Regions from separate parts of the Homo sapiens genome. Here region 1 is linked to region 2. The links are contacts of gene promoters, found by promoter capture Hi-C in blood cells and fetal thymus (Javierre and others, 2016). All regions are on one chromosome and are shown on one strand. Each heading gives the region's core, a stretch centred on a gene start or on the middle of the fragment in contact. The rest is flanking DNA. Distances are from core to core; before and after follow the strand shown. Region 1 holds the start of LOC124903461 (a long non-coding RNA gene). Region 2 holds the start of EMC7 (ER membrane protein complex subunit 7).

Region 1 (2,700 bases), core at 1-2,500, 140 kb before region 2:
TACAGGTTTTTGGCCACAGCAAAGCCAATGGGGAACCTACCTGGGCTTTACTTCTAACTGCTGCCATTGCAGAGCTTGGAATACTCATTGCCTCCCTGGATCTTGTGGCCCCAATTCTTTCCATGTAAGAGCCAGTGATTCTCTTCAGTTATTCTTGCTTAAATGATAAATAATGCATGTTTATTTCCATCAGTCATATAACAGTAGTGATAACAGAGTGGGCTAAATACAGATGTAACTTCACTTAAATAAAAATCATTCCTGAGAACTTCCAAGTAAGGCTAACTTTTGTAAGTTATTAGGTTTTTTCCTACCTATTTAACTTCAAAAGTTCTTTGGCTTCATTTCTAATTCATTGTCAATTGGTTGTAGCTTTTACCACCACTGTTAGTTTTTATTTATTTATTCACCTATGACTTATTGATGCTTACTACTTACCTGGCACTGTGTAATGTGGTATTCTGGGAATACAAAGATGGATAAGACACAATCTTATGGAACTGATAATGGATAAGGAAACCAATGATTCCCATATAGCGTGATGAGTGCCATGATAAAGGTGAACACTGAGTGCCCTAGGAACACCAGAGCAAGGCATCTAAACAGATGGAAACTCAAGAAAGATTTTCCGGAGGAAGTGATACTTGTATCTTGAAGAATAACTGGTTATTTGCTAAGAAAATAAGGGGTGAAGAACATTCCAGGCAGAGAATGCATATAAAGGAATTGAGGGATGGCATAAGGTAGCACATCCAGAGAACTGGAAGTAGTTTGGCTTGGCTAGAGTGGAGGGTACATGTTGAGGGAATAACAGAATAGAGAAGTAGGTAGACCCAGATCACAAAGGTCCTGGAACTTTTACCTGGAAGTAGTGGGTAATCCTTGAGCACAAAATGATAATGCTTTAGGATGATCAATCTTGTATAAAAGATGGATTAGAAGGAGGCTAGAATTGAGCTGGGAATGCTAATTGGAAAGAAGAAATGAGAGCCTGAACTAAGGTGATTAGTAGTAGAGATGAAAAGGAAGAGAAGCAGCTTAAGAGATTTTTAAATAGAATCCATAGGACTTGGTAAGTGAATTTGGAACAAGGGTAAGGAAGAGGAAACCTGGATTATCCTAAGAACAACTGGGTAAAGAGTGGTTGTGTCATTGACTGAGAGAACAGAGAAGGATGAACAGTTTTGTGGGGAGAGGTTTAAGTTTCCCTACTTCCTACTTAATCAAGGGTTAGTTGTCTAGAAACAGGCTTCAATACAGCAAAGGTATTCAGTTACTTAACCTTCAAAGAATCATCTTCCAGTAATAATCATTCCTCTTACTCTTTATTCTTCAGGTTTTTTCTCATGTGTTACCTCTTTGTAAACTTGGCATGTGCCTTGCAAACATTACTTCGAACACCCAACTGGAGACCCCGATTCCGCTACTACCATTGGTAAGTCTGCTTCTTTTATTCTTTTTACTCACGTTTGGAGAGAACCCATCTTTGAACTAGAAAACTAGGAGAGTCTGGGTTCTCGATAAAATTTTTTTCTTGGTCAGCCATTTCATACTGTTTCAACTTTCAATTCTTATCTGAATCCTCATCCTCCTATCCTATTTTCCTATATCACTTTATAATAACTTATAACACCCAATACGAATAGAGCAAAAGCACTAAATAGAGATATCCAGCCTTCTATAATTTTCAGGTTAAAACAACCTTCTCTTGCATGTTTATTTTCCTGTTTGTCTCTTAGGGTTACAGAGTCAGAGGTTCTAAATTCCAATCTCAGCTCTACTATTTCCTAGCTTTGTAACCTTCAGCAAAGCACATAACCATGTAAAATTTAATTTTATTCATTTGTAAAATGGGACTAATAAATCTAAAGTGCTTATCGTAGTGCCTGATACATAGTAAAGCTCAGCTCTCAATGAACTGTTGCTGCTGCTGCTGTTGTAGTTAAGTCTCCCCAGTCCTGAAGGGGTCATCATGAAAGATTTTTGGCTACCATCCCATCTCTTTCCTCTTATAGCTCAGAGCTCATTAATTATGTCCTGTATGTACCCGTTGCTACATTCTTCTTTGCTAACTTTCTCCTTGTTCCCTTTCTGTCTTCACTTACCAATGGTGGGCAGTGATGTAACGTTTACTGGGCAAAAATTAAAATCTTCAACTGATTTTTAATGCCTCAAATCCTCTTTCTAGCTTTAATGTTAGTTAGAAGTTCTTTATGAGGCCGGGCGTGGTGGCTCATGCCTGTAATCCCAGCACTTTGGGAGGCCAAGGCAGGCGGATCACCTAGGTCAGGAGTTTGAGACCAGCCTGACCAACATGGGGAAACCCCGTCTCTACTAAAAATACAAAAGTAGCCGGGCATGGTGGCACATGCCTGTAATCCCAGCTACTCAGGAGGCTGAGGTAGGAGAATCGCTTGAACCCGGGAGTCGGAGGTTGCAGTGAGCTGAGATCCCAGGTTCACACCATTCTCCTGCCTCAGCCTCCCGAGTAGCTGGGACTACAGGCGCCCGTCACCACACCCGGCTAATTTTTTGTATTTTTAGTAAAGACAGGGTTTCACCGTGTTAGCCAGGATGGTCTCAGTCTTCTGACCTTGTGATCCATCCGCCTCAGCCTCCCAAAGTGCTGGGATTACAGCTGTGAGCCACCGCATCCGGCCCAAAAATAATTTTTCTCAGTGAGTTCTGCAGTTATGCTAA
Region 2 (2,700 bases), core at 171-2,670:
ATCAACTGCAATGTTTCTGTTTGGAGTATATACAGTGGAAAATTTATTTACAAGAAAGTCGAACACAGGTTTGATCTTCTGCAATGAAATCTGGGCCTTTGATTGACCAGCAGATATAGAAGAATTGTTGACAAAATGCAGGCACCGAAACAAAAGTAAAAATCTTTCACCAGTCATAATTTGCCTGAGATAAGGTGTATCCAAAAGAGGCCTTGTTGACCAAAACATCTCCAGCTCAGGTTTCTGCACAATACCTTGCAGTAACATTACTGCAAAAAAGACTTTGAGCTCGTCATTGTCAGTGTCTTTCCATTTATCCATTCGCGAAAATCCTTTCGGACCCGGTGGCTTTGAAGCCAACAAGGCAGCTTGGGCATTTGTTTCTCTAGTAATTTTTGAAACTAATTCCTCAGTAAAGAACAGTTCAAAATACTGCAATGGGTCAGTGATATCACTGACATCGACTTTTCTGCCAGGTGTGCCGGTAAAGTCATACCTTTGACGTGGAATCATAGCACGAGCTGACCATTTCATGGAGCGCCCTGAGTCACTTGATGTAGAGCTCTTTCCATCAGATTCTAAATGGGACAGAGGCCTGATCTTATCGGCTTCTAAAGCACTATCCGAAAAATTATCAGAATCATCTATTTCCGAAAAATCAGATTCATCAAATGAATCTTCAGCCAACAACTGTTCGAGACCGGTATTACTATCACGCATAGGAATGCTACGTTTTCTAGGATTTGACATTTCAGCGATCGAGAATTACTATATTTTGTAGATGGAAATCCCACTACTAAAAACAGAATGCTATAAACAGAATGATGTCTTTTGTTTCAAAAGTCAATATACCAGAACCATGCGAAAATAACAGAAGCGAGATATTTCGTGGCAAACTTTGGGAGTAAGGTTGGCACTGTAATCCACGAGTTATCTCGGCGTAAACGCTGCAGTCGCAGGCACAGCAGCGCGTAATCTCGGGGCTAAGGAGAAATGAGTTAAACGCACACAGACAGAAGAAGCCTTTCATCTCATACGTCTTGGGGAGTCTCTAGAAGTTTTTTGAAAGGTCTCTTCTGGATGGTGTTTCTCCCGAAGCCAGTCTCGTCATCTTTTACTCCCGTGAGGTCCTTGGCCTCCGTGGCTGCCGCAGCAACACACACTTGACTTTCACTTCATGGGCAGTCCCCTTCATAGGCACTTGACACAGGCTCTGTGCGCCGTCTTCCAATCCAGAGTGCCGGGAGTTAAGGGCAGTACTTCCGCCTTACTTCCGCCTCGCTAGTCGATCGGCCATGATCTCTTCCCTCTGGTTGGATCCCACAGCTTATGACAGAAACGGGCGCGCAGTGATGACAACATCAAGCCGCCAGCGGCGGCGGTGGCGGCCGGGAGACTGGGAGGGCTTCCGGGGCTGCCGGTCTGAGTGCAGAGCTGCTGTCATGGCGGCCGCTCTGTGGGGCTTCTTTCCCGTCCTGCTGCTGCTGCTGCTATCGGGGGATGTCCAGAGCTCGGAGGTGCCCGGGGCTGCTGCTGAGGGATCGGGAGGGAGTGGGGTCGGCATAGGAGATCGCTTCAAGATTGAGGGGCGTGCAGTTGTTCCAGGGGTGAAGCCTCAGGACTGGATCTCGGCGGCCCGAGTGCTGGTAGACGGAGAAGAGCACGTCGGTTTCCTTAAGTGAGCATCCTGAGGGCAGCGGGAAAAAGGCTGGGATGGAGGCCGGACAGGGACCCCACCAGGAGAGTTAAGTGTCAGGACGGGACAACGTCGCTGTCTCAGACTGAAGGGGAGGGTGCCGCTAACGGTCTATGCCGGGAGACCTTGGGAGGCAGTCGGATGCTTTCCCTTTCCTGGTCCTGTACCTCTGGAATGAGCATGGCAGGCGCTCACCCCCTGCCATGGTCAGAGCATGGAGTCAGTTATTTCCAACCTTATTTTGGCCCCATGTGGGGACGATCATTCCTGGGCCCTGGGGACAGGTGGACCCTTATTAGTCTCTTGTTGGATTCTTTTATATCTCATCTGGTTTCCCTAGAACCTAGTCGTTTTTTGCATTCACTTCAGTCTTTTGGTAGCTTGTTATTATGTAGAAAGATGCGACACAAGTGGGAATTCTCAAAACCCAAAGGGCTTCTAGTGACGACATAGACTGGGAGGCTAATGTTACTGCTTCTAAAATTAATAGGCTCTGAAATCCCTAATCAAAGCACTTTTTTTTTCTTTTTTTTTTTGCTTGGGGGTGGGATCGTTGTTCTTTTTTACAGTTGAATTCATCGAGAGATTTGCTATATCACACTTGTCATTTATGTGAGACTAGGGTTCCTCTACATTGCTTTCTTGCTTCTGTCCTTTCATGCTATTAGTGGAAGTGGGTTTTCTGTCTATATTAAAAGACAGGATGAATTTGTTAGCACTAGTTTTGCAGCAGCCTGCTTTTGAAATGTCTAGGCACGCGTATGTTGTTTTAAATCTTTCCACCCTTACTTGGAGGTGAAACTGTAAACTGAAAGCAAATAATTAGGAAGTATTTCCTTTGGTGGGTTCGTACACCAGCAAATGGTATCTGAAAATCAGACAACTTAAATGTAGACATTTAAATCCAAATCTGATTTACATATTTGTTCAGATCATCTAAGTGCCCTTGAGTGGTTATTCAACCTCAGATTAATAAATAGTGACAAATTTACAACCAGTATTTT

The links. The method cuts DNA at HindIII sites, captures the fragments that hold promoters and counts their contacts. A CHiCAGO score of 5 or more calls a contact.
Region 1: a fragment that was not itself captured here is called in contact with the fragment with the promoter of EMC7 in region 2 in 7 of 17 cell types (total B cells, monocytes, naive CD4 T cells and 4 more); the score reaches 7.5 in total B cells.

Annotation. Positions count from the first base shown.
Region 1 is chr15:34,242,709-34,245,408 of GRCh38, reverse strand. It overlaps SLC12A6 (solute carrier family 12 member 6), which reads left to right. Exons shown (of 26, transcript NM_001365088.1): 15 at 6-124; 16 at 1,337-1,435. It overlaps LOC124903461 (a long non-coding RNA gene), which reads right to left and starts at 2,283. Exons shown (of 2, transcript XR_007064576.1): 1 at 1,468-2,283; 2 at 1-157. The HindIII fragment of the contact is 4,431 bases long and covers 1-2,700 here.
Region 2 is chr15:34,100,582-34,103,281 of GRCh38, reverse strand. EMC7 (ER membrane protein complex subunit 7) reads left to right here and starts at 1,420. Exons shown (of 5, transcript NM_020154.3): 1 at 1,420-1,678. The coding sequence starts at 1,443. PGBD4 (piggyBac transposable element derived 4) reads right to left here and starts at 1,199. Exons shown (of 1, transcript NM_152595.5): 1 at 1-1,199. The coding sequence starts at 750. RefSeq lists enhancers at 990-1,079, 1,110-1,809, 1,419-2,276. The HindIII fragment of the contact is 6,792 bases long and covers 1-2,700 here.